Linked DNA regions of Homo sapiens: regions 2, 3, 4 and 5 are each linked to region 1. The links are contacts of gene promoters, found by promoter capture Hi-C in human tissues and cell types (Jung and others, 2019). All regions are on one chromosome and are shown on one strand. The core of a region is centred on a gene start or on the middle of the fragment in contact, and the rest is flanking DNA. Distances in the headings are between cores, read along the strand shown. Region 1 overlaps STMN1 (stathmin 1). Region 2 holds the start of SH3BGRL3 (SH3 domain binding glutamate rich protein like 3). Region 3 holds the start of CEP85 (centrosomal protein 85). Region 4 holds the start of MAN1C1 (mannosidase alpha class 1C member 1). Region 5 holds the start of CNKSR1 (connector enhancer of kinase suppressor of Ras 1).

Region 1 (6,022 bases), core at 965-3,464:
CCCCTCACATGGGCACGTGATATGCTGGTCCCACCCCATCTTTTCTCCATCCCTAGCGCAAAGGCCAGTGTGGAGCACAATCTAGGTGCTTGTCAAATGTTAATTTAAGGGCCTCCTTCACGTCCTTCAAACCTCTCTCCACTGAGCCCAGTCAACCATAAGGCCCAAGTACAAAATCCTCAGGAAGGGACAAGCCTCATTTTCCATTCAAGACAAAAGGAATGGAGTCTGCTCCTTGGTGACAGCCCCAACTGCTTGTCAAACCACTCTGGCCTTATTAGGCCAATCTATTGGAAGTACTGCTGGGAGAGGCTGGCCCCACTGGGACAGACGCAGACTCCCGTGATGGCAGAGAATGCCGGGCCCGGGAATGCATACCCAGAGACACTTCCCCAGAAGCTCGTAGGTGCCACCGCTCCTCCTCTTCACTCCAAGCCAGATGCAAAGAATGGGGGAGTGAAAGTTACTTAACTGATCTCCCCCAACCATCTCATTTTATCCAGGAGAAAATGGGGGCCCAGGACTAAGTGCTTCTCCAAAGGTCAAGGTGAAATAGAAAAGCCAGAGCTTCTATTTCTGTGGTAAGATGCATCCCCTTCAGTTTCCTGTGACTTAAGCCTGTCACAAGGCAGGGGCTCAGGATCGCCCTCTGATAGGAAGTCAGGGCCACCATGGGATGGGTGGTAACTGATGAGGCATCCTTTCAGGCCTGTTGATCCTTCCCTTGCTTTCTCCTGAGGCCAGTTTCCCTCCCTAAATGTCTTAGATGAACAAAAGCTCACTGCCACTTGTAGGACACCTCGTATCATTATGCCAAGTTTCTACCCTCAGGCCCTCTTTATATTCCCATCTATTCAGAACTGGTATTTTAAAGATCCCAGAGCACCTGCTATGTGCCAGAGACAGGAGCCAAGATGAACTGTGCTGCACCACTGCACACAAGCCTCATCCTGTCCTCTTGGTTTAGATATTGCTCAGAACCTATTGTTGTATTCAACTATACTTGCACTTGCTCCTATTTGCCCTACATGGGCGTAACTCCTTAAACCAAGCTTTGTTCAGAATTCCTCTGATTGATCATTTAAGTAAATTTAAAAGTCAATTTAAGGAATATAAAAACTGCATAATTTCCAACTCAAGAGTATAAACTTAGATCACTCATTAGCCTCTGGTTGAAAACAGTAATCGTGATTTATACGGAATGCTAAATATCTATGTTCTAAGTGTGCTCTCTTGCCACAAACCCATTTAATCCTAACAATCTTAGGAGGTAAGTTGAGGTAGGCTGTTATTGTTCTCATGAATAAGTTTGGTAAAACCCCAATCTCAAGATACAGCCCAAGCAGCAGAGGCACATGCGTTAGCAACACATGGACCCCACCGCAGTATTAGCAATCATCTTTTGCTATAAGTGCTTGGCTTCCAAGAGCTTTTATACAGATGTCTGAGAGGCACAAAATATGTATAATTAGGCTATTTCTCAAATAGCACAGGAAAGCTGCCAAAGGCGTTCCCTGAATTGAGAGGCAAAGCACTGACAATGGGGACTATTACAGCCTCTGGATACAAGATGACGTATCTGCCAACCTTAACCACCCGAGTCAAATGCTACTTTAGAAATAATTAAGGTTCCCTTTAGTCATTTCACAGGAGTTGCTACAGCAGTACATAAAGTTTTATTAATATTCTGATTCTCGTGTCATAGCTTTTATGGCAGGAAAGGATGAGGACATGCCCCACCTGTAACGTAGAGCAAGCAAACCACCAAGTAGAATCTTGAGATTCTCTCTCAACTGTTCTCTAGAAACACGCTTGTGCTTTTAATCTGCCTTTTAAAAGGGACACAGAACAAAAAATGGTTGTTTGCAAATAAACATCTGAAAGAAAGTAACAGCTGACCTGGGCTGAGGCATCCAAACAAAGCAGTCATTGTGGAAGGAGACAATGCAAACCACACTGGGGCAAGAAACGGGGCAGAGAACGTGCGGTCATTTGTGCGTTGGGTATTTCTACCAGCCCCAAAGGCCCCATCTGGAACAAGTATCAACCAGGAGGGGCTCTATGGCTTGATTTATTAACCTAACTCAAAAGAAGTCACTGCCACCAACAGCACTGTGCAGTTTTATTAACCATTCAAGTCCAGTAGCATCTGGTAAGATTGGGACAGAATTGGGATTGAAAAGTGAACAGATATTCAGCATCTAACAGTTCAAAAGAAGCCACTACATACTCTTTTCACAAATATGTTTTCACAGAGCCAATACAGTACTAGCCATTAACCCAGTACACCAAGTGTACTGAAGTAGAAAAGATGCAACAAGAAAAATAGCTACATTAGAAAGACCAACACTTTAGAAAAAGAGTAAAACACTTTCAGTTTCTCCCCTTTAGCCCCTAAAACAACATCTTACAGTCTGGATCTGGATCTACCTATACAGTCCTACATTAGCTTCTAAAATATTTGTCAGGAGGGAAAAAATAAAATGACACTGGCCAGTACAGTCTTTGGATATTTAGGAAGGGGATGGGGAGAAAGTCAGTTCTCAGAACAAATTAGTCAGCTTCAGTCTCGTCAGCAGGGTCTTTGGATTCTTTGTTCTTCCGCACTTCTTCAATGTGCTTATCCTGTAAAGGAAGGGTAAGGTGTCATCAGTCAAAAAAAAAAAAAAAAAAAAAAGCCTGTCAAGTCACGACCCCCAGCCCCCACCTCAAAGAGGCCCAACACAACCTCAGTGCATATATTACAGCCTGTGGGAACCACACAATTTAAGTTCTGAGACATCATCATCAAATCTCCTGGGTCCCTTGTAGAACCTAACAAGCTGCCTACTGGACTTCCAAGGACTGTGCAATTATGCTGGGAATTACTGAATATTCCATCTTAAAATATACCTTTCATTTAATATGTTAAGCCCCAAAATGGATGACAAAAAGACACCAAACACCTTTTATCAAAGCACTTAGTTCAAGCCAACTCATTGGTGCATCAAACTCCAAGCTCAACCCTTTTACAAAGTAAGAAACCAACCTTCTCTCGCAAACGTTCCAGTTTGGCAGCCATTTGTGCCTCTCGGTTCTCTTTATTAGCTTCCATTTTGTGGGTCAGTTTCTCTTCTGCCATTTTACTGAAGTTGTTGTTCTCTTCTATTGCCTTCTGAAGCACTTCTTTCTCGTGCTCTCGTTTCTCAGCCAGCTGCTTCAAGACCTCAGCTTCATGGGACTGGAAAAAAAAGTTTAATAGGCTAGGCACTCTAAAATGTATTCAGGCTGGGTGTGGTGGCTCACGCCTGTAATCCCAGCACTTTGGGAGGCCAAGGTGGGTGGATCATTTGAGGTCAGGAGTTCAAGACCAGCCTGGCCAACATGGTGAAATCCTACCTATACTAAAAATACAAAAATTAGCCGGGCGTGGTGGCGGGTGCCTGTAGTCTAAGTTACTTGGGAGGCTGAGGCAGAAGAATTGCTTGAACCCGGGAGGTGGAGGTTGCAGTGAACTGAGATCGTGCCACTGCACTCCACCCTGGGTGACAGAGACTCTGCCTCAAAAAATAAAATGTATTCAGCATAAGTTAAAATTACAATAAAAATAATTTACTAAGGGGATTGAAAAGGGGCAGAAAATAAGGTCCCTTTAAATAACACCAAAATTAGGACCTGAATTATCCCTATCATAAAATACTGTGAAAATGATATTCTTTTTCTAGTATTTGTATTTAACTTTGGAAAAGTGCTTATCTGTTCAGAAATCTTACCCAATTAGTCCTTAAGGAAATCCTTGTAAGATTTACTGCTTAATGGTATCTGGATGACTTGAGGAATATGTACTTGCGAGTGGCACTTTTATTGTAAAGAATTTCACTATTTAACTTCAAAAGCTACCCAAAGAAAACTAGCTCATTGTAAAAATTTTAACCATAACTGATAAAACAATGATAGGAAATTCAAGACTAAGTCTGTAGATTACTATTTAAGACAGAAAAATTTGTTTCAAGGAAAAGGCTTATTAGCTTTTGTCTCAGGAAACTGCATTAATTACCAGACCATACCTTGGTATGACCCCTTCAACAGAACAGCTTGTTCTCAAAACACATTGGAACCACTGACTTGCAGGATAACCACAGAGCATCTGACACTGGTTCTATTGATTCTCTTCTGCCAAATCCTAGTCATGATGGGAGTTTCATTATATTTAGCCAGTTACTATGTAAAGCACAGGCTAATGACTACAGGGCCAGGGTTGATGTCTAAAAAGCTTTCCACTGTCCAACCTTTGGTTGTATTGCTTCCTCCTACTCCATGAACTCACACTATTGCATAGAAGACGACTCCTTAGTGTAAGCACTGAGGCTCTTCGGGCGGGTGTGTGTGTATACTACAAATCACTATGCTGGTCTGGGGAAGGTTATTACCTTACCTTTTGTGCCTCACTTGCCCCAGCTTTAAAATCAATCCTATCAGGGTTGTTGAGAAAGGGAGTTAAATGAAAAGTTATGTACAGTTGTTAATGAGTAACATTGAATGGAAAGAAACACACCAAAATGTTAACACTGGTTGCTTCTCGGAAGCGGGATAATGAATACTTTTAATTTCCATTTATAAATTTCTGTATTTCCCAAATTTTCTACAACTAGCATATTAATATTTATTGATTCTTCTGATTAGCTTTTAAAGATAGTTACTTTATAATAGAATTGTTTAGATAAGAGAAAAGCTACCATGATACCAGCTGAGCAACACAATCACACTAGCAATTTAAAATGTTATTGTACAGCTCTCAAAAAACAAAACCAAAGTGCCAAAGAATCATCTGGCAACAAATCTTTTCAAAGAGGAAGCATGAGAGAAGCATGAGCTTTGGTTTAAGATAGACCAGGGCTTGAATTCTGACCCCAACACTTACTAGTTGTATGACTGCAGAAAAACGACTTAACATTCCTGAAACTGTTTCTAATTTCCATTATTTGAGGCAACACCATGTATTAAAGGAGAAAAATATAAACAAAGGAGCGGGCATGTAACAGGAGTTCAATAAATGAGGACTGGTATTTCCTTCCAGTCACTGGCATATGTAATAATCACAGTGTAGCTACAATTCTGTTTTCTTCCTGTTATAGAAATAAAATTGATCTGCCCATTACATAAATTAATATCCTGCTTTCTGTGAATTGCTTCGTTTACCTTGCGTCTTTCTTCTGCAGCTTCTAATTTCTTCTGAATTTCCTCCAGGGAAAGATCCTTCTTCTTTGGAGGGGAAAGGGGGAATTCTGGAACAGATTCTTTTGACCGAGGGCTGAGAATCAGCTCAAAAGCCTGGCCTGAGGCACGCTTCTCCAGTTCTTTCACCTGGATATCTAGAATTGATTATATTTATAATTCAGAAAACCAGGATTCTCCTGTTCTAATAAACTGTACTATAATTTTCTAAAACCCAAATCAATTTAATGTATTAAACTAGGGCTGATGAGGAAAGTTGTGTTTTTTTTCCCCTTTTTATTCCTATCAGTCTACTGACACTAGGGGAAGATGTATTTGCAGGCAAGATATTATTATCTAAATACCATTTCCCAAGGCCAGGTACCATGGCTCATGCCTATAATCCCAGCACCGTGGGAGGCCAACATGGGAAGATCCCTTGAGCCCTGAAGTTTGAGACCAGCCTGGGCAACAAAGGGAAAGCCCATCTCTACAAAAAAAATTTTTTTTGATTAGGTGGGTGTGGTGGCCCATGTCGATAGTCCCAGATGCTATGGAGGCTGAGGTGGGAGAATCGCTTGAGCCCACTTGAGCTCCAGAAGTCAAGGCTGCAATGAGCTATAATTAAGCCACTGCACTCCAGCCTGGGCAACAAGGTGAGACCCTGTCTCAAAAAAAATAAAAACCATCTCCCAGAAAAACAAAGCTCAACATTTTTGGATTAATAAATACTGTTTTGAGACATCAGTATCTGACAATCGCTTTCATAAACAAAAGACTTGTGCAAACTCCACAATTTTGCTTCAGACTAAGCCAAACTGTCCAATAA
Region 2 (6,022 bases), core at 2,285-4,784, 380 kb after region 1:
GGACTTGATTGAGAAGAATCTGACACTCCAGGAACACCTGCGCCAGGCCCAACCAGGGTCTCCACCTTCACCAGACACGGCCCAGCTGGCACTTGAGCTGCACCAGGAGTTGGCCAGTTGCCTTCAAGATCTGCAGGCTGTCTGTAGCATTGTGACCCAGAGGGCCCAGGGCCATGACCCCAATCTCTCCCTGCTCCTGGGCATTCACTGTGAGTCCTCAGACCAGTCTGGGGCCCAGGAAGGAGGGTCCTTCTTTCTCTTCTCTCCCCCATCCTGCTTTCCCATATTCTTGTGGTAATATGTAGACAGAGTACATAGTCCTGGCCACTGCCCTCTGGACATTTATTTGTTTCACAAAGTAGGTGTTCACAAATCTGTTTTTGGAAACAAGCTATGGGGTACTTGCATGCAGGACAAACTAAAAGTGGACCTTCAGCAGCAAATTAACCCACTGTCCCCAGATGCTTTTTTTAAAGTGCATGTCCCAAGACTGTGGGTTCAAGATACTGCCTATCCATACTGCACCCTCCACATGAAAATGTCTCATAACTAACATTCTCTTGAAATGCTCTTCTCCCCAGCAGCACAGCACCCAGAGACTCAGCTAGATTTGCAGAAGCCAGATGTGATCAAGAGGAAACTAGAAGAGGTTCAACAGCTGCGTCGTGACATTGAGGACTTAAGGACCACCATGTCAGACAGATATGCCCAGGACATGGGAGAAAACTGTGTCACACAGTGAGGAATTCTGGGGGATTCCCCCAGGGAGGAGCTGGGCTGCTGAGAGCCTAGTCCAGCAGGTTTCTGCCCTGACATTCTCTTGTCTGCTATTCCCAGAGAGGTCTCAGAGGGGAGGGGAGAGCCTGCATCTGGGGGCCAAGGGCTGATTAGGGAACTGTGTCCTACCCACACTGGCATGTTGGATTACGTTTGTCCTGTTAATTCACTCTAGACGGTGAGTTACTAATTAACTTTTGGCAGGTACAACAGATAAGTCCTCACAAACTGTTCCCAGCCCTAGGCTGACATGAGAGACGAACAGGCTGTCCACCTTTCTTCTCCATCCAATGGGATGGATCCATGTTCATTCCCACTTCACACCTTGGTCCTGCTGATTAGAGAGCTCATCAGAGGGGCCTGGAAAGGCTGAGCAAGTACCAGTGACAATGGCCATTTAAGAATTCTCAGGCCCCATGTGCCAGCCTTCTTGGGAACTGAGCTGGCTTTCTGGGTTTTCTCATGCCTGGTCTTACTGCTTCTTCCTCAGGGCTCTTGTTCTCCCAGAAGCCTCAGGGTAATGTGTTGGTTAGCACGTAACTACTAGGATTGGGGCCCTAGGGATTATAGCCAGGACTCTAATCTGCCTACCATGCCATTTAACAAGAGATCCCACTCTCCAGCTGCCTTGTGTCCCTAGGGTCCTGGCCATGTGTTTAGTGTGCTAAACTTTCTCCTTTGTTCTCAGGCCTTCCAGGTAGTCCCCTTCCTGGACTTAAGAGTGCAAACTCTTCTCTGTGGTTCTAGCCTTGGGCAGAATTATATCCCAGAGACCACAGAGCAACTGTCAAGCTGCTTACCCCCTCACCCAGGGCTACAGCCTGTGCCCAGCCCTCTAATTTGTGCCTCTCTTGTGTTGGGGGTGGTGGGGGTTATTCCTTTCCCTTTCCTGCTCTGGCCTCCTTGAAAGTTCAGAGTACCCAGTACAAGTCAGCTTTAAAGTACAGCTTTTAGTGTTTCCTGGGTTGTTTCTCTGGGGCTTTAGTGAGGGACCTTTGCCCTCTGGTTTTTCTTGCCTCCTGGTTTAGGGAGCATCTCACACTTGTTAGTATCTGGTTGTTGGGCCAGCCGTGCCTCCTCTAGATCTGGAGCCAGGCCAGGCAGGGGCCACGTGTGGGCCAGTCAGCCACTACAAGATTTTTGCTAAGCTTTGGGCTGTTGGCAGCATCTTGGACCTCATGCCTGGGCCTGAATGAGGCTCTTTCTTAAGTGTTTTTACAAGTTTGTGTTTTATTTATGGAGTGACTTATCCCTTCCATTCAGAGCAGCCCCACCCAGCCAGCCCTTCAGCCTCTGGGCTCCTGCTGCTTAAAGGCAGAGCCGCCTGGTTGGTCTCCACCCTGTGCATTGGGAGCCCAGCCACCATGCTGACGGGTATTTTTCCTCATAAAGTTTATAACCAGTTATTTATATGAATCTTTGTTATGTCCATTTGTTTGTATTGCGTATTTTGATTATAAAATAAAGTATCTTAACAGACTCCTCAGTTTTCCATACCCTTCCATCACCACCACCACGCTATTCTACCCCTCACTTTGGCTTGTTAGAGCCAAACACCTGGGTGTTCAGCCAGGTCCCCCAGGCAGCAGCGTGGAGGAACCTTTGGCAGGTCCAGCCAGCCTCATGTCCCTATCTATCTCTGCCACCTCTGCTCCTCTGTCGTTCTATAGAACCAGATCTCTTCCCACTCACTTTCTCTTGGGCAAACCTTCCCTGAGTCATAACAGAAGTTTGTCACTGGAAAGTTTCAGCAGTCCTCTCAGGAAGTTGGCAGCCTCTGGGTTGCTGTGAGGAAGTGGCTTTACCAGAGCAAGGGTTGTCTTTCTGGGCTGTTAACCTGCCTGAGCCCTGGACCAGGGGGACATCTGAGAAGCATGATGTTGAGTGCCAGACAGCTAGGTCTCCAAAGTTGGGCTCGTTGCTGGAGTCTGCCCCCTCAACCGCTGAATTCTTGCTGGGAGTAGTAGCAGTTTGGGAATGCCATCTGCAGCATGGAGCTGGGGTTGAGCTTGGACCACCCCAAGACCTGGGGTGGATCTTAAGGGTCAGCTTGAGCCTAGGCTCTCGAGTCCTGACATCATCCTCTACCGCCACGCTTTCCAGCTGTCAGCCTTGGTCTCCATCTGGTTCCTTGAGGGTGTGGCCTCTGCGTCCTGCTATCACCCTTCCTTGTCTAAACCTTCCCACCTGAGTGGAGAGGAACTTGGGGGAAAATCTCTAAGCATGGGCTCTTCCTGCTGTCCTATGCTTCCTATCCCCTAGGGTTAGTGGTGCGTGTTGGGTGGTGGAGCGAGGGATCCCTTGGAGCAAGGTTCTTAGAGAACTTTGGGTCTGAAAGCAGCTCAAACCTTCCAAAGCCCCAAGCTTCCCTGTGCTATTAGAGCACCTCCTCCTGGAGAGAGCGGCTCTCGTGGCTGGGGAGTTGGATGCACCAAACCTGTGTGCGGCTGGAGAGGGAGGCTTCTGCCAGACCCTCTCCCGGGCCTGTCCTGCCACCCAGGCCCCTCCCCAGTCTCACACTGAGCTCCAGATCAGGGAAGGGCCGAAAAGGACGATCAGGGCAGCCGCAGAAGGGGCGCCCTGCGTGGGACGGGTCCGTTGCGCGCCTGGTAACCGAGGGGGAAGGGAAGGGGCCTCTGGCGTGCGGGGCGGTGTCGCGCAGGTCCCACCCCGCCTGCCCGCGCCGCCCATTGGTCCCGAGCGCGATGACTTGGCGGGCGGAGCAGGAAGGAAACCGCTCCCGAGCACGGCGGCGGCGTCGTCTCCCGGCAGTGCAGCTGCCGCTACCGCCGCCCTCTGCCCGCCGGCCCGTCTGTCTACCCCCAGCATGAGCGGCCTGCGCGTCTACAGCACGTCGGTCACCGGCTCCCGCGAAGTAAGTGCGCGCCCGGACTGGCGCTGGGGGAAAGCGCAGGGCTGTATCCCGGTGCTTTGGACCCTAGCGCCCGGGACCCACCCCCAGGACGGGGGCGGGGTGGGGGGAGTGCGTCGGCGAGGTGCTGGGCACGGTCTCCCGGACCCGGTCCCGAGGCCCCATCCTGAATGTCTTCATCGGGCATCCTGGGTCCTTTGCAGCCGCGGCATGAACTTCCCGTGCCCATCCCCCATCAACCCCACACCCATTCTCTGCACTCCCACTACCGGGCTGACCCTGACCACGACCGCAGCCTGCCCTCCCCTCCCCTCCCCACCCTGAGCCTGATCCCACTTCCCTTCACTCTGACCCCCTCCCCCGTGGCTGATAATCCCTCTCTTCATCCTGCACCACCTCAAGCCTGACTCATCCTCCCAACTCCTAGAGGCCAGAACCCTCCCCTAGTGTGGAGGGGAATGGGGGGACAAAAGCTCCTGGTCACAGCCTCTCTCACCCTGCCCAGCATTTCCCCCATAAATCCTCCAGCCTATCCACTAACCCCTACCCACCCTCTGTCCCCAGATCAAGTCCCAGCAGAGCGAGGTGACCCGAATCCTGGATGGGAAGCGCATCCAATACCAGCTAGTGGACATCTCCCAGGACAACGCCCTGAGGGATGAGATGCGAGCCTTGGCAGGCAACCCCAAGGCCACCCCACCCCAGATTGTCAACGGGGACCAGTACTGTGGGGTATGGGCTGGGGGACGGGGGGGTGGGGGGAGTGTTGGAAGAGGACTCTAGCCAGGGTCATATCTGCCACAAAGCACTTGGGCCCCCTGCATTCAGGTGACCACCCCTCGCCTCCCCTTCTCCAGGACTATGAGCTCTTCGTGGAGGCTGTGGAACAAAACACGCTGCAGGAGTTCCTGAAGCTGGCTTGAGTCAAGCCTGTCCAGAGTTCCCCTGCTGGACTCCATCACCACACTCCCCCCAGCCTTCACCTGGCCATGAAGGACCTTTTGACCAACTCCCTGTCATTCCTAACCTAACCTTAGAGTCCCTCCCCCAATGCAGGCCACTTCTCCTCCCTCCTCTCTAAATGTAGTCCCCTCTCCTCCATCTAAAGGCAACATTCCTTACCCATTAGTCTCAGAAATTGTCTTAAGCAACAGCCCCAAATGCTGGCTGCCCCCAGCCAAGCATTGGGGCCGCCATCCTGCCTGGCACTGGCTGATGGGCACCTCTGTTGGTTCCATCAGCCAGAGCTCTGCCAAAGGCCCCGCAGTCCCTCTCCCAGGAGGACCCTAGAGGCAATTAAATGATGTCCTGTTCCATTGGCACTGTGTCTGGTTGGTTGTGGCCTGGGCCTCCTGGGTCCCTGCCCTGGGCAAGGTTGGTAGTTGTGACTGTGCTGAGACTGCTCTGTGGGAAGGGTGGCTGAGCTGTTCTCTTGTGACTGTCACCTCTGTGTTTGTTAGTGCATGTGTTTGGATATGTCTGACACACAAATACCTGTATGGACCAGTGGTTTCTGGAGATGTCTGGGTGGGCCACCCTCCAGTTCACATGCATGTGTCCATATCATGCTTGTGCCTTGGTGTGTAGTGCACATCTCCATGCCTGTCAGTGAGTGTGGCCATCCCATGCGCCTGTGTTGGAGCACAATGGCTAAGAATGAGTGTATCATGGGAGGTGGGTACCCAGCTGCAGTTCTGCTAATTTGGGGGCATGGGTCTAGTGGCAAAATGGCTTTGTGCGGTGTTGAAGTGTCCCCACGAGTTGGTGGGTCTGTGCCTGTGCACAGGTATCTGCTGGCTGCACACATACACAGTGAGGCTCTGCTGTCCCAGCTGAGAATGTAAACCCAGCTGGGGCCAGCTCCTTCCCCCCACTGCATCCCTCCCTTCACAGGATCCACTTAGCCCTTCTTGGGAGAAAGAGGAACCTAGAAGACAAAGACCCAGCAGCCAGGCCCGCCAGCCGGGGCTCGAGTTACCAAGGGGCGGGTCGGCACCGCCCCCTCCCTGGCCCAGCTGGTCCCAGGCCTTTCCTACGTGCCTGGCGAGATGGCCCACCCAAGAGCCTGGCGGAGCAGCGGGTTGAGGGGGCGGGTGCTTTATTGGGGGCTGGGACTGGGTCCAGGACAGGGACTGGGGCCGGGACCGGGACCGGGACTGGGGCCGGGACCGGGACCGGGACTGGGGCCGGGACCGGGACCGGGACAGGGACCAGGACTGAATTTCAGGCTGGACTTCGGGGCTCGGCGTGCCCGCAGCAGCAGTGCTGCTTTGGGCACAAGGCCTGCAGCCTGCAGCGTGAGTGTATCGTCCTGGTAGAGGGTGGGCGGGAATGTGCTGAAGATCTCAAAGGCAGAGGCATCCATGACCCTGG
Region 3 (6,022 bases), core at 2,179-4,678, 330 kb after region 1:
ATCTTGTTCCCATAATCTCCATGTGTCATAGGAGGGAACTGAAGGGAGGTAATTTAATCATGGGGGCGGTTGCCCTCATGCTGGTCTCATGAAAGTGACTTCTCACAAGATCTGATGGTTTTATAAAGGGCTTTTCCCCTTTTTGCTGGGCACTTCTCCTTGCTGTCACCATGTGAAGAAGGATGTGTTTGCTTCCCCTTCTGCCATGATTGTAAGTTTCCTGAGGCCTCCCCAGCCCTGTGGAACTGTGAGTCAATTAAACCTCTTCCCTTTATAAATTACCTAGTCTCAGGTATGTCTTACCCAGTGAACATTAGTCTGTTCTCACCGTGAGAACAGACTAATACATCCAGCTAGTCTTTTAAAAATAATAATGTAACTGACAATTTAAGAATATCTTATATTGGCCAGGCGCTCACACCGGTAATCCCAACACTTTGGGAGGCCAAGGTGGGTGGATCACAAGGTCAGGAATTTGAGACCAGACTGGCCAACATGGTGAAACCCCGTCTCTATTAAAAATACAAAAATTAGTCAGGCATGGTGGCGTGCGCCTGTAGTCCCAGCTAATCAGGAGGCTGAGGCAGAAGAATCGCTTGAACCCGGGAGGCAGAGGTTGCAGTGAGCCGAGATCGCTCCACTGCACTCCAGCCTGGGCGACAAAGCAAGACTCCATCTCAGAAAAAAACAAAGAATATATCTAAAGAGGTTGGTCATGAATATTCTCTGAAACTAGGACCAAAAGTCTCTGTTAAAATATAAATGAGCTGAGAGTGGTGGCACATGCTGGTAGTCCCAGCTACTCTGGAGGTTGAACGGGAGGATAGCTTGAGCCCAGGAGTTTGAGCCCAGCCTGGGCAACATAAAGAGACTCCTTCTCAAATGCATGTGTGTCTGTGTGTGTGTGTGTGTGTGTGTGTGTGTGTTCCTCCTTTGAAACAATTTTCCAGTCTGATTCTTCAAGCTCATATTAACGCAAATGGACTTAATGGTTCCTTTTCCTGGGGACTAAGTTTGGGGAGGAAGGCAGGACTGATTCCTTACCCTTCAAACTAAACCCTGGTCACAGGCTGACCAGTGCCTCCAACCCAGACCAAGCCCTGACCCTAGCCTCAGACTGTGCAATAACCCTGACTAGCATATATGTATATATATACATATGACAAGTCATTCACATTTGAAAATTGGCAGTAGGGCCGGCCACGGTGGCTCACGCCTGTAATCCCAGGATTTTGGGAGGCCAAGGCGGGCAGATCACCTGAGGTCAGGAGTTCGAGACCAGCCTGGCCAACATGGTGCAACCCCGTCTCTACTAAAAATACAAAAATTAGCCGGGTGTAGTGGTGGGTGCCTATAGTCCCAGCTACTCAGGAGGCTGAGACAGGAGAATTGCTTGAACCTGGGAGGCAGAGGTTGCAGTGAGCTGAGATCGTGCCACTGCACTCCAGCCTGGGTGACAGAGCAAGACTCTGTCTCAAAACAAAACAAAAAAGAAAATTGACAGTAGATAATGGAATTACTTTTAAACTATAGATATCTATTACAAAGAACTGTACAAATGTACTGTTTGCTATTTGTAAATTTAAATCTCAACACTTCCACTATGTTTCCAGTCGGATTTCTCTTCTATCCTCTGTATCAGCAATTCACATCTTCCTAATTCTTCTCAGTCCTCTAGATGCCCCTGTTCCCTCCCTCCTCACATATGCCTTTCACAAAAGAAATGGAAGCCTTTCAATGTTTTCTGACTCTTCTTTCTCTTTCTTTCTTTCTTTTTCTTTCTTTCCTTCTTTCCTTCCGTCTTTCCTTCTTTCCTTCTTTCTTTCAGAACCTCGCTCTGTTGCCCAGGCTGGAGTGCAGTGATCTTGGCTCACTGCAACCTCTCCTCCTGAGTTCAAGTGATTCTCTTGCCCCAGCTTCCCCAGTAGCTGGGATTACAGGTGCCCACCACCACACCTGGCTAATTTTGTATTTTTAGTAGGGTTTTATCATGTTGGCCACAGGCTGGTCTCAAACTCCCGACCTCAAGTGATCCACCTGCCTGGGCCTCCCAAAGTGCTGGGATTACAGGCGTGAGCCACCGTGCCCGGCCAGGACTAACACTTTCTAGCTTTCTACCCTTCAGTCCATAAATTTATTCATTTAGACACCCTGTCTTAACATTTTTTTTTTTAGCCTTTACGTTAACAGAGGCTTCTGGTCCTAATTTCATATCATACCCAGGTTCATTTTCATTATCCATTAAATCTGCTATTTTATGTCTTCTATATTCTTATCTTAAAATACTAAAAGAGAGGACAAAGGATACAACCTTGGGGCACATCCCTAGGGTCTTTCCTCTAGAGTGACTTTTATTCAGTAATGAACTCACTTTGTCTGGCTCTTAAAGCTAAGAAATTATACAACTTTTTTTTTCCATACAACTTTTTTTTGGAGTGCAGGGGCACGATCTCGGCTCACTGCAACCTCCGGCTCCCTGGTTCAGGCGATTCTGCTGCCTCAGCCTCCCGAGTAGCTGGGATTACAGGTATGCGCCACCACACCCAGCTAATTTTTGTATTTTTAGTAGAGACGGGGTTTCACCATATTGGCCAGGATGGTCTCGATCTCCTGACCTCGTGATCCGCCCTCCTCTGTCTCCCAAAGTGCTGGGATTACAGGCATGAGCCACCGCGCCCGGCCTCCTATACAATTTTTTAGTATCTCTCCCTGCCAAGTCAGGTTTCTAGATACCCAGAATTTCACTATCTGAGATTCATTCCTTTGGCTGATGGTTCTGTTCTCCTTTCAAACAATTTTCCTGTCTGACTCTTCAAGCGCATATTAATGCAAATGGACTTAACAGTTCCTTTTCCTGTGGACCAAGTTTGGGGAGGGAGGCAGGACTGATCCTTTACCCTTCAACCTGAACCTTGGTCACAGGCTGACCACTGCGTCCAACCCAGACCAAGCCTTGACCCTGACTAGTCAGTGACCCAGGCCACACCCTAACTCCTGGTCACAACCTGAACCCCTGCTTCAGGTGTGAGAACTGATAGACCGGCGTTGGAATGGAAGGAGGGTGAGGCAAGCTGAGTGGGATTCTCGTGTCCCCAGCCCCGCCCGCGGGCCGCCAGCTTCCCAACCTGCACAGGCCCAGCAGGGCCCCTCCAGGTCTAGGTGAGCAGAGCTCCACCTACAGGTAAAACGCGGCAAGGGGCAGAGAAGGAGCCAAGTGGCGACGTGGTCATGCGCAGAAAGATCCGTCCGGCTCTCTGAGCAGAGGGTAGCGTGTGGGGGCGGGATACCGACGCGGCTCGGCTGCCGATTGGTCAGAAGAGGATAGAAAGGGGCGGGAAGCCGGCGCGGCTCGACTCCCGATTGGCCAGAGGCGGCAGAACGGGGTGGGGCCAAACGACGCGCGTTCTGTGGCGCGCGGCCTGGCGGGCGTGCAACGGCCGTTAGAGGAGCTGAGGGAGGGAACCACCGCTCACCGCAGACGTGGTGGCTGCAGTCAGTCTTCCCGAGTGAGGGATTTCGCCGCCCGCTTTCAGGCCCGTGTAAGTTTTCCTCCTTCGGGAGCCTCAGTCCTAGTGGCCGACCTTGCCTCTCCTCCCATAGCTCCGGCGAAGCCTCAGACGCTCGCGACCTGCCACCGTGAGGGGCCGGGGAGAGCGAAGCGCATGCGCCTCGGCTCCGAAGCCAGTGCCCCGGCATACGCCCTCTCGCGTCCCATTCCCCTCGCTTCCCCCGTTGCCTTGCTTTGCCGTCCGTGGTTCACCCCACGGCAGTCACTTTACCTGCGTGCCAGGCCCTGTGCCGATAGCCAGGGACACAGCGAGCGGCGCATTCCTTGCCCTTGCGGAGCGCACAGCCCTGGGAGTCGACGTTAAGCGGGGTAATCCCTCGGCGCGCAGTGAGGGTAGAGTGGAGAAATCTTACAAAGAGCGCAAAACAGAAGGCGCGGATCTAGTCGGAGAGGTCAGGGAGCCCTCCCCGAGGAGGAGAAGTTTGAGCCGAGATTGGAAGGCTGTGTAGAGAATTAAGGTTGTGGGACGGAAAGCACTTGGCGGGGCCTTACCCCGGTACTTCTCGGCCGGGGCGATTTTGCTTCCCTGGGGACATTGGTCGATGTCTGGAAACACTTTTGATAGTCACAGCTCCAGGGCTTGCTACTGGCATCTAGTGCGAAGAAGCCAGGGATGCTGTTACACAGCCTACTGTGTGTAGGACGCCCCCAACAACAAAGAAAAATCCCCCAAAATGTCAGTAGGGCGGAAGGTGAGGAAGCTTCCTTCAGCGAGAAGGAGCTGGTGCTTTGGTTGAACTGAAAGTTAGTGTGTTCAGGTTTATTTGTTCAACAGTATATTCAACGCTTACTTCACCTCAGTTAATGAGAGCGATCCTTTACACCAGTACATTCCCAACACGTGGCTCAGAGCCAGGCGCATAGTAGGCACGCAGTAAATTTCGGTTGATGAATTGAACACTGGGATAAGTAGGGGGCGGTGGTGATACAAGGACGATGAAGCTAGCCAGGCCTCATTTATTTGCCCTCAAACCTTGTCTGCTTTATAGTGATCTGGTGGTTTTGTATGTCTCACGACTTTTCTTTGTAAAGGCAACTTCTTGTCAAGGATTTGGCTTCTCTTTCACAAGGTTTAATGAATGATCAAGGCGGTGAAAATAGTGTAATGGTGTGAGATCCTTCGTGTGTCTGTGTCAGCTGTCTGTGTATCCCTTCAAATCCTCTCTTGTCTTGATGTGGTTCTCTTAACAGCTGCCAAGCATGATGTTCCACACTTAGATTGTAATTCTTTTTTTTTTTTTTTTTTTTGTGAGACGGAGTTTTGCTCTTGTTGCCCAGGCTGGAGTGCCGTGGCGCGATGTCGGCTCACCGCAACCTCCGCCTCCCAGGTTCAAGCGATTCTCCTGCCTCAGCCTCCCGAGTAGCTGGGATTACAGGCATGCGCCACCATGCACGGATAATTTTGTATTTTTAGTAGAGACGGCGTTTCTCCATGTTGGTCAGGCTGGTCTCAAACTCCCGACCTCAGGTGATCCGCCCGCCTCGGCCTCCCAAAATGCTGGGATTACAGGCGTGAGCCACCACGCCCGGCCACACTTAGATTGTAATTCTTATAGGGGAAAAATACTTACGGCAGTCAAAATCTAATTCTTGGGTAGCAACTTGAGAAATAAAGCCTAGGTGATGACCAAGGACAAAGTGAAGAAATTTTATGAGCTTTTACTGCTCATATAATTGAGGCTTGCAGCTCTAGCTGTCTGAGGCAGAAACTCCAACTTGTGGTGCCATGCTTGATCTCTTTTTTTGTGTTTTGTCACATGTAGAATGCTGACTAGACTACTGTAGCGTTAGAGTACAGTCCTGGCTTTGAAGCCTCTTCCTAGCCATATGACCTTCACTACTGTAAACCTTTATTTTCTCATCCATAAAATGAGGATAATAGTAACTGCCTCATAGGGTTGATGTGAACATGAAACATGAGACATGATACTTAAAAAGTGTTGAGCACAGTGTTTGATAGGTAGTAAGTGCAGAATGCATGTTAAATTTGTTGAATGAGTGACTGTTTCTGTAGTTTAAAGGGCTTTGAAGATGGAAACCAATCCTGTTGGGTGCTTTTTTTTTTTTTCCCCTCTGTCTGCCTCCATTCACTCCCTTTCTAAGCTTTATAACTGGTGTGTTACTTCTTGTACATTCACTTCTCTCATTTTTATCCCAGGAAATTTCTGTCTCCTTCAGTTGTCCCAAAAATTTCCACCAGTAGCTCATCTAATTCTTAAGTCAAGAATGATTTATTTTGTATTGTTTTACTCCTTACGGGGTTTCTTTCTTTCTGTTTTTCTTTTTTGAGATATTTGTTGTCAATGAGGGTCAGACTCTGAAATATTTGAAGGGATTTATTCTGAGCCAAATATGGGTGACCAGTGGCCCCTGACACAGCCCTCAGGTGATCCTGATAACGTGTGCCCTGGTTTTAAACATTTTAGGTAGACATGAGACATCAGTCAAATACAT
Region 4 (6,022 bases), core at 2,262-4,761, 280 kb before region 1:
TGAGATAGGATGTGAGTGAAGCACTAGCACTGGTGCCTGGGGGTTCCCTTCCTGATGGGCCGGATTGGTCTGTGTTTGTTGCCTTTTAGACAAGAAGTTCCATGAAGGTGGGCTTCATGTCTGTGTCAGGGCTGTATCCCCTGCCTCTCTGTACCTGGCACATAGTAGATGTTCAATAAGTAGTTTTTCACTGGATGAATGAATCAATAGTAACAAGGGACCATGCTTTGCTCACCTTTGTGTCCAAAACTAGTGCAATACCTTGCATCTAATTTGAATAAATATTTGTTGACAGAATAAATAGATTTTTTAGAAATAGCTGTTTGTTTCTGTTCCCAGTTCCATTTGAATTTCTGAATTAAACTGAGAAAGATACTGTGAAGGTTAATTTTGTGTGTCAATTTGACTGGGCTACGGGATGCTTACATAGCTGGTAAAACATTACTTCTGGGTGTGTCTGTAAGGGAATTTCTGGAAGAGATTAGTAATTGAATCAGTAAATTGAGTAAAGAAGATCTGCCCTTACCAGTATGGGTGGGCAGCATCCAATCCACTGATGGCTGAAACAGAACTAAAAGGAAGAGGAATGGCAAATCCATGCTCTGTGCTTGAGCTGGAACATCCATCTTCTCCTGCCCTTGGACATCAGCTCTCCTGGTTCTCGGGTCTTCAGACTCAGACTGGGATTTACACTATCGGCTCTTGTGGTTCTCAGGCCTCCTGGCTTGGACTGGAACTACACCACCAGCTTTTTAGACCTCCAGATTGCAGATGGCAGATTGTGGAACTTCTCAGCCTTCCATAATCACAGAAGTCAATCCCTCATAATAAATCTCTTTTTATATATCTATATATAGCCTATTGGTTCTGTTCTGGAGAACTCTGATTAATATAGATACTTATAACTCATCCCAAGTCTCTCTAAGCCTTGGTATTCTTATCTGTAAAATGGGGCTATTAATAATTATCTACCACAAAGATTATTCTGAAAAGTAAATAAGACAATATGTATTTGGCACATAGAAAATGTTAGTTCACTGTTCTTCCATTCCCCGAGCTTCAGTTTCTACATCTGTGAAATGGGCATCTACTCACTCATTTCTTCATTCATTTACTGAGCAAACACAGTGCCCATGTGGAAGGCATTGTGGTTAAGACCCGGGGCAGTTAGAGAAGTTAGAGAGTTAGAGAAGTGAGGAAGCCGTGGTGAAGAACTGAGCATCTGCTTTGTGACAACACACCAATAGTCTTTAAAAGTCAGTGGGAGAAGAGCCACGGGATGTATGAGGTCTCTGGGGGCTAGAGGTGTGGGGCAAGGGGACACCCAGGGTTTCAGAGAGCTTTTTAGAGAGACTGGTATCTCCCTAGCAAGTGATGGTATCAACAACTTGGTGTGATCACCAACATCACATCACTTTGCAATGGAGTTACCTGCTGGGGCCTCTGGTTTTCATAGCCTGAGTGTGAAAGGCACGTCAGTCCTGCTGCAGCCCCACTTTCCACCCTGGCTCACAGAGCACACCAGAGTTTGGTCAGAGTGTCACATCACAGTGAGCATCTAGTTCAAACAGACATTTCCTTCTGAGATTCAGCTCTGCTCTTCTCCCTTTCTGGATCCTACCTTCACAGGGGACTGAACAGTGATTCCCCTACACTCTCAATGAGGAACAACACAGATGATGACTCTAATGAATGCTGGGTCCCTGCCTGGTTCTCCAAAGACAAGGTTGCCCTTTCCTGCAGTGGGACCCAGTGAGGCGATGCTTGGGTGTTGGAGACATGGGTGAGGCCAGGCCAGGTCTCTGGGCTCCTGCACCCAAATGGGTCACATGCTTATCTCTGATTTGCACAGCTGGCTCCACATCAACCTGCCAACGAAACTCACAAGAGATTGAAATATCTGAATTAGAATTTTATATTTAAGCTGCATATATTTGTGGGATTGGGAAGGATTAGTCATCTCCAGTGACCAAAATGTTTGCACCTGTTACCCACTTTCATTTTCAGTTGAGAGAAAGTTGCATGCCAGGGATATTTAAACATCGAGGGTGGGTCTGCTGTCAGTGGTCTGGCCAGAGGTAGAAGGATGACTGAGTCCCAGCCGCCCATCCCCAGCAGGCCTCAGGGAAGAAGCAAGATTTACGAGGCGAGAGCCTGCCTGGCCCGCTTCTTCTGTCGGGAAAGGCTTCCCTGCAGTATTTTCTGTCTCGTCAACACTGCATTTCATTTTAAATTGCAGCTGAAAGTAGATATTTTCCCTCTTGCCTATTACAAACCTCTTAATTTGTCTCTCCCTCTGCTGTTATTTGTCTCTATAAAGTGTTTTGCATGAAAGACCCACACAGCACAATGTTGCTTCACCCTGGGTTAGGTTTAACAGGAAGGGAAGATGCAGAGACTAAGTCCAAGGAGGAAGATGTGAGGGCCTTGGGGTTGAGGACACGCGTGTCTGGGAGTTGATGCCTGGCTGTTTTTGGAGGTTATCTGTTGCCTGAGTGTCTGTGGGTATGCGGGTGCACATGTCCATGTTTGTACTAATTTACATATATGTCTATGCATACTGTGGTATAATCACTTGGGTGTCCATACCCAAATTAAGTGTATGTTTGAGTGCATGTACACACCCACATGCCAGTCTCTGTGTGCATATAGATCTATGCCCAGACGCACACATGTGCATATAAACACACGTAGGCATCAAGGTAGACGTCCGTCACATTATGTGTGTGGTCTTCTGTAGACACGCCCGGGGCTCTCTTCCTTTCGCTGCTTCTCAAGGCTGCGGTCAGCCTCCCTCCGTGCTCCACCCAGGAGCCCTGGCCCCGTTTAGGGTTGTGGGAAAAGGAAGGCACGCCAGTGGTCTGCGAGGGGGCCAGTGGAAACATCACCTCCGCCGACCCGGCCGCGGTCACAGCTCTCTGGCTTGGCTCCAGCCACCAGCAGCACCCCTGCAGCCCGGCGTTAGCGCTGAGAAGCCCGGGGCAGCCGCCAGGGCGCGGGCTGCCAGCTCCCTGACAACCCCGGGCTGGCACTCGGGGGCGAGAGAGGTCACCCAGCGACGGGCACACCCCTCCAGAGCAACACCGTCTCCGGCCCGCTTCCGGGGGCCACCAACCCGAGCCTCGCGGGCGGGCTGGGGGGTGGTCTCTGTCGCTTGGGGTCCAGCGAAGGCTGGGCAGTAACCAATGGACGACTGTGGCCCAACGGGGATCCCTCGGATGCAGCCAATGCCCTCGTTGCGCTCTCCGCCCCCGCCCTCGCCTGCCCCGCGCCGCTGGACCATTGGCGCCCGCTGGATGGGGGGTGCGCGCGACGCCTGCCCTTCGGGGAGGGCGGGGCTTGGAGCGGGCTGCGCTCCCGCCCGCGCTCGGCCTCTGCCCCGCCCCCGGACGCGCGGCCCTCAGCCGGCTGCGGCGCGGCGGCGGCGGGAGGGGGCGCGGGGCGCGCGCGTGGGCGTGGCCGGCGGGCGTGGCCGGCGGGCGGCAGGAGGCGGGGCGGCGGGCGCTGTCGCAGTGAAAGCCCGAGCGGCGGCGGCGGCGGGGACGGCGGTGGAGGCGGCCGGGTGGCTGTGCGCGCGTGTGGGGCGCAGGCTCGGCGGCAGCGGCCGGTCTGGAGCGGCCGCTGCGAGGAAGACAGCTGCAGCGGGGGAGGCGCGGCCAGGGCTGCGCGCTCCGCGGAGCCGGCGGGGCCGGGAACAGGTGATCCCAGTGGGAGCCCCGCGCCCTGCCGAGTTCGAGGGGCGGGAGCCCGCGCTCCCGGGCGCATCTGCAGCCGCCCAGCCGCGGCTCCGGACCCAGGCATCCCTGCGCTGTCTGGGGCCCGGGGGAAGCCCCCTGCCCCCGCAGGCTCGGAAGTGCCTGCTCCTGCTCCCTGGCCACTCCGGCTCCCAGCTCCCGGCGCCCTCTCCGCGGCGGAGAAAGTTGTGGACGTGTCCCGATAGTCGAGCCCGGGCGCTGTCGCGACCGGGCCGGGTGTGCGCGCGCTCGGGGCGGCGCTGACACGCCAGCCCCCCATCGCCTCGGTCCCCTCCGGAAACTGCTTCTGAAGCTGAAACTTTGGGCGCCTACCAGCGCGGGCGGGAGCCTAGGGGGCGGAGGGCGGCTTGGTGCGGGCCTGCGGGCGCCCCTCGGCGCGGACAGCCGGGACGCCGCGGACGGCATGTGACGGTCCCGGCGGCCGCAGCGCGGGAAGGCGCGGGCCCCGGCGCGGCGGGGAGGGCTCGGCCGGAGGGGAGGCTGCGGCGCGCGGCCGGTCGCTGCGGGCCCGGGCCCCAAGCCGTGCCGCTCCGCTCGCCCGGGCCCCGCCGAGGCCGCTGCGCCCCCGCCTCCTCGCGGGAGGACTCGCTCCAAACTCCCTGAACTTCGGGGACAGTCCCCCGAAGCGGCGAAACTCTCAGGGTTGGCAACCCTGCCCAGGGACCCCCATCCCGGGCGGCGCTCCGGACGCCCTCCCCTCACCGCGCCCCCGCAGACACGTGCCTGGACTCCGAGGGCTTCTGGAGCCACCGGCCGGGCCACGATGCTCATGAGGAAAGTGCCCGGCTTCGTCCCGGCCTCCCCGTGGGGGCTGCGGCTGCCGCAGAAGTTCCTCTTCCTCCTCTTCCTCTCGGGCCTGGTCACCCTGTGCTTCGGGGCCCTCTTCCTGCTGCCCCACTCCTCTCGCCTCAAGCGCCTCTTCCTGGCCCCCCGGACCCAGCAGCCTGGTCTGGAAGTGGTGGCTGAAATCGCCGGCCATGCCCCGGCCCGCGAGCAGGAGCCGCCTCCCAACCCGGCCCCCGCCGCGCCGGCCCCGGGCGAGGATGACCCCAGCAGCTGGGCCAGTCCCCGCCGCAGGAAAGGGGGGCTGCGGCGCACCCGCCCCACTGGACCCCGCGAGGAGGCCACGGCGGCCCGGGGCAATAGCATCCCGGCCTCCAGGCCCGGGGACGAGGGCGTCCCTTTCCGCTTTGACTTCAACGCATTCCGGAGCCGTCTCCGCCACCCGGTCCTGGGAACGAGGGCCGATGAGAGTCAGGAGCCCCAGAGCCAAGTGCGAGCCCAGCGGGAGAAAATCAAGGAGGTATGGACTCAGCCCCCAAACTCCTCCCACCAACTGCCCCCTCTAAGGAGAGAAGACCCTCTGGCGCTCCCACCCCTTTCCCTTGCCTCAGTCACTCCTGGTCCCAGGTCTACTTCTGGCCCTGCAGACTGCACTTTGCACCTTCCCCTTTCCTCCCAAATGTCCCACCTTCTTTCCTCCCTACACAGTTTCCCACCACTCGGGTCAGTTAATCGTCCCCACCGTGACAGATGGCAGCTGAACCCCTAGACCAACTGCCCCCTCACTCCCAGACTCTGGTATGTCGTATCCAACCCCCAGGCCCAGTGAGCTCCACTCCTTCCCTTTGTGGAGTTGCTAATGAGAGTGGAGTTCAGGTTCCTTAGTGCACCCTCTTTTTGCATTTGTGGACACAGAGCCACTGGTCCCATTCTTTTTCACTGTGTGACCTTAAGTCCAAAACCCCTATAGGACCTGCTTACCTAAAAACCCAGGATTTAAGGGGGTATTTGGTGTCCTGCAAATATTTTGTAATCTAGTAAGCAACCTACAAACCAGAGGATGTTGTGCATTCTGTTTCTATTGAGCTTATTGAGCTTCAGAACAATTGTACACAATTGTACATAATTGCATATGATGCAGGAAGAGATGATAAAGCAGTGGTCATATTACAGAAGCTCCGAGGTTATTGGCATAATGAAGCAGATCTTGAGCTGGTTCCCTGTAGGGATTGTACCAGGAGGGATTTAGAAGGATCACTTTAAGTCTGAGTCTTAGTTTAAGAAATCAAAAGCAAACACAGCCTCACAAGGCTTGAAGACAGTTGCCAGCTTGCCACTGCCACTAAATATTCTGCTGGACCACTGTTAGAACTGCCTGCGTGCGGATGGTGCCCAGCAATGCAGAGGGGGCTGCAGTGACACCCCCAGGCCACGAGGGGGCCGTGGGCAAGCTGTGGGCCAGGGTCTCCTCCCTAGAAACGAGA
Region 5 (6,022 bases), core at 2,225-4,724, 280 kb after region 1:
GCTGCATGAAGAGGCAAAAATGTTAAACGAGGATGCAGCACGGAGTGTTCAAGGGACACAGACCTGAGGCAAAAGACAAAGCTGGAGACGGGCATTTTGCAAATTTGAAGCCAACTGGCTCACAAAATGAAAGAGGCTGTTAATACCAAGTGTGAAGGTGGGATGGCATCACCAGAGCTGGCCAAGTTCAGAGAAGCTGGAAATCTCAATTTGGATGTGACGTTATTAAATGATGACAACACACGTACACTACATGGGCCAACCATGGGCGAAATTCAGACTTTGGGTCTCTGGGTTACAGGTAAGGTCGTGACAGGCTTTGATGACTGGGGGTGCTGCAGAAATTCTGAAGTAGGTGACAACAGGTAGCTCCTCCCCACAGAATTAAAGCAATAATAACTCATATCTACCCCATGATACAGATTTCAAAGTACTTAATGTCATCACAGTGCTAAGGCCTAGGAATCCCCTTCTGGAGACAAAGAAACAGATTCAGAGAGCTGTAGAAGTTGGGCTGAGTCACATAGCAGTTGAGTATGGAACTGATTTTATCTGATTTTTTTTTTTTTTGAGACAGAGTTTTGCTCTTGTTGCCCAGGTTGGAGTGCAGTGGCGCAATCTCGGCTCACTGCAACCTCTGCTTCCGGGTTCAAGCAATTCTCCTGTCTCAGCCTTCCGAGTTGCTGGGATTATAGGCGCCCGCCACCACGACCGGCTAATTTTTTGGATTTTTAGTACAGACAGGGCTTCTCTATGTTGGCCAGGCTGATCTCGAACTCCTGACCTCAGATGATCCACCCGCCTTGGCCTCCCAAAGTGCTGGGATTACAGGCATGAGCCACCGCGCCCGGCCTTTTTTTTTTTGAGGTGGAGTTTCACTTTTGTTGCCCAGGCTGGAGTGCAATGACGCGATCTCAGCTCACCGCTACCTCTACCTCATGAGTTCAAGCAATTCTCCTGCCTCAGCCTCCCGAGTACCTGGGATTACAGGCATGTGCCACCACACCCGGCTAATTTTGTATTTTTAGTAGAGATGGGGTTGCTCCATGTTGGTCAGGCTGGTCTCGAACTCCTGACCTCAGGTGATCCGCCCGCATAGGTCTCCTGAAGTGCTGGGATTACAGGCCTGAGCCACCACGCCCGGCTGATTTTATCTGATTCTAAAGTCCTGGGAGTCCCCTGACCTGATGATGATGATGAAAATGAACATTTACTATGTGTCAGATATTTTTCTAAGATTAAAGCTCTTGCTCTGAGGTTCAGAATTCAGGGGATCCATAAACTTGGATGGGAAAAAATTATATTTTTATTTTTGCTAAACTCTAACCAAAATTTATGATTTCCTTCTATATGGATTGAAGCAGTAGCAGTATCTTTGGCTTAGTCACCAATAGAAATCACATATTTTCATATCAAATTGTAGTTATTGCAAGTATCTCAAAATATTTATGCTCAAGTGATTTCAAAATCACAGTGGTTGTTAAACCACCACTAAATTGTTCGTGAGCAACTTCTGTTTCAGATGCTCCTGTGATGTAGCCGCCATTAATTGGTTACCTCCAGGCTTAGCAGTGGTTCAGTGACCAAAGGGCGAATCTGCCTGTTCTGAGTAGGGCTTCTCCACTCTTCTGCATTCCCTGTCTTTTTTTTTTTTTTTTTGAGACGAAGTCTTGCTCTGTCGCCCAGGCTAGAGTGCAGTGGCGCGAACTCGGCTCACTGCAAGCTCTGCCTCCTGGGTTCACGCCATTCTCCTGCCTCAGCCTCCTGAGTAGCTGGGACTACAGGCGCCCGCCACCATGCCTGGCTAATTTTTTGTATTTTTAGTAGAGACGGGGTTTCACCATGTTAGCCAGGATGGTCTCGATCTCCTGACCTCATAATCCGCCCGTCTCGATTATAGGCGTGAGCCACCATGCCCGGCCCAGCATTCCCTGTTTTTAGTTGTTTGCTGATCAATATGTAAGAGGAGGGGCGTCAAAGACCACCCCACAGTTTAATGTCCTTATTCAAGCTGGTCGACAACACACTGAGGTCATTAAAAAAGAAAAATTTAACTTTCGGCCAGTCTTATTAATGTTAGTAAACACATAATATAAATTTCTGGTTTTATTTTTTTGAGATGGGCTCCTGCTATGTTGCCCAGGGTGGCTTTGACTCCTGGGCTTGAGTGATACTCCCCCGCTCAACCTCTCAACCTCTCGAGTAGCTGGGACTACAGTCGTGTGCCAGCACTCCCCAGCTCCAAATTTTTTTTTTGTTTTTTGTGGGTTTTTTTTTTGAGACGGAGTCTTGCTTTGTTGCCAGGCTGGAGTGCAGAGGCGTGATCTCAGCTCACTGCAACCTCCGCCTCCCAGGTTCAAGCGATTCTCCTGCCTCAGCCTCCTGAGTAGCTGTGACTACAGGCGTGCACCACCACACCCAGCTAATTTTTGTATTTTTAGTAGAGACGGGGTTTCACCATGTTGGGCAGGCTGGTTTCCATCTCTTAACCTCATGATCCACCCGCCTTGGCCTTCCAAAGTGCTGGAATTACAGGCGTGAACCACCATGCCCGGCCAAATTTGTTTTTAAATATAGTTTTGATAATTGTTCTCATTGTAATCCTAAGCATTTTGTTTTGTGCATTTATTTATTTATTTATAATACAGAGTTTTGCTCTGTTGCCCAGGCTGGAGTGCAGTGGCACGATCTTGGCTCACTGGAACCTCCCCCTCCTGGGTTCAAGGGATTCTCCTGCCTCAGCCTCCTGAGTAGCTGGGATTACAAGCACCCACTACGCCCAGCTAATTTTTTGTATTTTTAGTAGAGATGGTGTTTCACCATATTGGCCAGGCTGGTCTTGAACTCCTGATCTCAAGTGATCCGCCCACCTCGGCCTCCCAAAGTGCTGGGATTACAGGCGTGAGCCACCGCGCCCGGCCTGTTTTATGCCTTTATAAGCAGCTATTCTGAGAAAGCATTCACAGGCCTCACCAGATGCCAGAGTCCATACTGCAAAATCCAAGGGAGGCTAAACACCCCAGTTCTAAATGTTTTCAAGCCATTCAGATACTGTGCACAGCTGCCCTTTGAAGTACGGTCTATTATATCTCTTTTACAGACCCAGAAACTGAGGCGCAGAAGTTAGGGTCAGCCCCAGGTCACACAGCTAACAAGAGCTGGCCTAGGCACCCAGGGACCTGGCCCCCTAGCCTCTGTGCTTTGCTACTGATTTCAGCGCTCCTCTTGTGGCTTTTTCTTGAGGAGCCCAAGGGTCAGGGTCCCACCCCGCGATATGAGGCCAGTGGCACTGCCCCCTAGCAGGCGCGAGATGCCAGAGCCCTAGGATGTCTGAAGGGCCGGGCAGGAGGCGGACGGGCGTGGGCCAATGGCTGTCGCAGTGCCTCATCTTGCCGTCTGTGTGAGCCCAGGTATGCAGTAGGCTCCGCCCAGGACCCAGCCCGGCCCCTCCTTAGGCCTGGGCTCTGGGAGCGGAAATTCCGGCGACAGCAGGGCAAAACAGGAGCTGATTCGAGCTGGCAGAGCTGGGCCATGGAACCGGTAGAGACCTGGACCCCCGGAAAGGTGGCAACTTGGCTGAGAGGTGGGTGGGGCTGGGGTAGAGTTGGGCTTGAAGGGGACTAGGTGTGGTGTCCCACCGGGAAGCGGGAGGAGAGGAAAAGGAAAAAAAATCTGCGGACTGGGTGCGCTGGTTCACACCTGTAATCCCAGCACTTTGGGAAGCCAAGGTGGGTGGGTCACCTGAGGTCGGGAGTTCAAGACCAGCATGGTGAAACCCCGTCTCTACTAAAAATACAAAAATTATCTGGGGGTGGTGGCAGGTGCCTGTAATCCCAGCTACTTGGGAGGCTGAGGCAGGAGAATCGCTTGAACCCAGGAGGCAGAGGTTACAGTGAGCCGAGATTGCACCGCTGCACTCCAGTCTGGACGACAGAGCGAGATTCAGCTCAAAAGAAAAAAAAAAATAATAAACTGCGGGCTCTATCAGTCGGTCAGTCAGTCAACAAATATTTACAGAGCACCTAACATGTTCCAGGAACCGTGCTGGGCAGAGAGACAGATGAGATGACCCTGGGGGGCCCAAGGACCCAGAAGGGGGCCCCTCATCATGGCAGTAGCCCAAGAGGCCTCTAGGGTGATAATGGGGAGGCGGTGTCATGAAAACAGGAGGGAGGCCTGACAGGCCCACACCCACTGTATCTCCTTCATCTTCCCTGGCCCCAGGGCCAGTGGGCTGTTGTTAAATCCGTTTCTTAGAGTCAGAAACTGACACACAGAGCCAGGAAATGATTTGCTCAGTCTCTGGTGTCATTTTCCCCGCTCCACACCCTGAGCTCCTAGTGACAGAAGCAGAAGCCCTAGGCCAGACTGAAGAGGTTGACACAGCCCCACCCTGGGGCTCCTATCCAAGGGGCAAGGTGCTGTCCAGGCTCAGCGAGCCCACACAGATGGGAAGCAACACACCCCACAGGCAGACTCAGAGAAGGAAGGGCCTCCTGACACACAGTGCGACCAGGAGCAGGCAGTCAGGACACCCCTCCCAGAGTGGGGAGCTGGAGCGCACTAGAGACAGGCTCAGGAGGACCAGCCCGGGTAAGGGCAGGAATTCAGGGCTGGGTTCAGACTCCCAGGCTGGATTCCAGGCCCACCCCCACCGCTTGCCAGCTCTGTGACCATAGGTCTTAGTTTTTCTGTCCATCAAATGGGAAAGGCAACTCTGACCTTATGAAGTCGACAAAGTGAGACAATCATGACATAGTTCATTTGTAGCTCAATGCCTGGGTCTATTGGGAGGGCACCAGCCCAATACAGTCACCGTGCAGGAAGGAGGTGGCTCAGGGGCCCATAGCCAGGGAGTGATAGGTTCATGAACTCCCAGTCCAGTGCTCTCAATGTGACACAGGGAACACACACACACACCTCCCCCAGTGAAGGAGCCTGGCTTAGAAGGGGAAGAATTCCTTCGAAGAGTGAGCAAGCTACTTAACCTCTGTGTCAGTTTTCCCATCTGTAAGCAGGATAATGATAGTCTTTACCTCCTAGAAATGCAGTGAGAATCAAATGTGTTAATATGTGTAAAGCTCTTATAGATTTGCATAGCACATAGTAAGCCCTCAATAGACACTTTTCTTATTTTTCAGTGCCTACCTTGTCCAGGCACAGGCCGGGGGTTAGAGACAAATGGTTATCTAAGGCCTGATCTTTGAAGAGCCTGTGATAAAATGGGAAAGACCGATGGTCAAGTGCAGGGGTTTGTGGAGGCTCAGGGGCAGTGGGAACAAGAGGAGAGCCCTCCATCCCACTCAGCCTGGGAAGTTATGGAAGGCTTCCTGGAGGAAGTTAGATGAAAAAGGAAGTGAAGGAGATAGAAGAGCAACGCCAGCAGGAGGAATAGCACTTGCAAGGACGCTGAGGTAAAAGGGTGTTCCAGGAGCTGCAAGGAATTAGCTCTGTGCATCTGAAATGTTGAGTTTAGGGGGCTCTTCAGGATATGATGCTGGAAAGGGAGGTAGTAGCCTAATCATACAGGGCCTGTAGGTCATGGTAAAGTCTGGCAATAATAATATGATGGCTATTATTGGCTGTCTCCCACGAACCAGACAGTGGCCAAGGCCTTGACATATGTTGTGTCATTCAATACACACATGATTAGAAGGTAGGTACTTTTATTATTCTCACATTACAGGTGAGAAAACTGGGCACAGAGCAGTGCTATTACTTGCTCAAGTGTTCACAGTGTCTCAGTGACTCCATAGCCTCTTGTTCTTATCCCCTGTATCATTAGTTCTCAAACTTAAGGGAGCATCACAGTCACCTGCATTAAAATACAAACTGCTGGCTGGGCGTCGTGGCTCACACCTGTAATTCTAGCACTTTCAGAGACTGAGGCAGTCAAATTGCTTGAGCCCAGGAGTTCGAGACTAGCCTGGGCAACATGGTGAAATCCCACCTCTGCAAAAAATACAAAAATTAGCTGGGTGTGGTGGTGTGTGCCTGTAGTCCCAGCTACTTGGGAGGCTGA

What was found. Contacts are between HindIII fragments. The study calls those that stand out against the background at their distance.
Region 2: the fragment with the promoter of SH3BGRL3 here is called in contact with a fragment that was not itself captured in region 1 in 4 of the 25 tissues and cell types used here (bladder, dorsolateral prefrontal cortex, lymphoblastoid cells and 1 more).
Region 3: a contact is called between the fragment with the promoter of CEP85 here and a fragment that was not itself captured in region 1, in 2 of the 25 tissues and cell types used here (dorsolateral prefrontal cortex and hippocampus).
Region 4: a contact is called between the fragment with the promoter of MAN1C1 here and a fragment that was not itself captured in region 1, in 1 of the 25 tissues and cell types used here (dorsolateral prefrontal cortex).
Region 5: a contact is called between the fragment with the promoter of CNKSR1 here and a fragment that was not itself captured in region 1, in 1 of the 25 tissues and cell types used here (dorsolateral prefrontal cortex).

Annotation. Positions count from the first base shown.
Region 1 is chr1:25,898,463-25,904,484 of GRCh38, forward strand. STMN1 (stathmin 1) reads right to left here. Exons shown (of 5, transcript NM_005563.4): 3 at 5,179-5,351; 4 at 3,029-3,220; 5 at 1,654-2,625. The coding sequence ends at 2,554. Among named protein-coding and RNA genes, the nearest start is that of STMN1, 4.9 kb to the right of the region's middle. The HindIII fragment of the contact is 6,597 bases long and covers 1-5,513 here.
Region 2 is chr1:26,276,552-26,282,573 of GRCh38, forward strand. SH3BGRL3 (SH3 domain binding glutamate rich protein like 3) reads left to right here and starts at 3,535. Exons shown (of 3, transcript NM_031286.4): 1 at 3,535-3,652; 2 at 4,214-4,381; 3 at 4,507-4,971. The coding sequence starts at 3,605. The coding sequence ends at 4,572. CEP85 (centrosomal protein 85) reads left to right here. Exons shown (of 14, transcript NM_001319944.2): 13 at 1-209; 14 at 585-2,257. The coding sequence ends at 742. It overlaps UBXN11 (UBX domain protein 11), which reads right to left. Exons shown (of 15, transcript NM_001389556.1): 15 at 5,731-6,018. The coding sequence ends at 5,748. RefSeq lists enhancers at 1-505, 3,056-3,943, 3,944-4,830 and silencers at 3,319-3,890, 3,367-3,816. The HindIII fragment of the contact is 5,211 bases long and covers 1-4,968 here.
Region 3 is chr1:26,230,772-26,236,793 of GRCh38, forward strand. It overlaps CEP85 (centrosomal protein 85), which reads left to right and starts at 3,429. Exons shown (of 14, transcript NM_001319944.2): 1 at 3,429-3,539. RefSeq lists enhancers at 3,628-3,777, 4,098-4,157, 4,248-4,297. The HindIII fragment of the contact is 8,629 bases long and covers 1-4,970 here.
Region 4 is chr1:25,613,280-25,619,301 of GRCh38, forward strand. It overlaps MAN1C1 (mannosidase alpha class 1C member 1), which reads left to right and starts at 3,512. Exons shown (of 12, transcript NM_020379.4): 1 at 3,512-5,058. The coding sequence starts at 4,519. RefSeq lists an enhancer at 2,778-2,947 and silencers at 3,138-3,427, 3,448-3,737. The HindIII fragment of the contact is 13,132 bases long and covers 1-6,022 here.
Region 5 is chr1:26,174,017-26,180,038 of GRCh38, forward strand. It overlaps CNKSR1 (connector enhancer of kinase suppressor of Ras 1), which reads left to right and starts at 3,475. Exons shown (of 21, transcript NM_006314.3): 1 at 3,475-3,583. The coding sequence starts at 3,532. The HindIII fragment of the contact is 12,765 bases long and covers 1-6,022 here.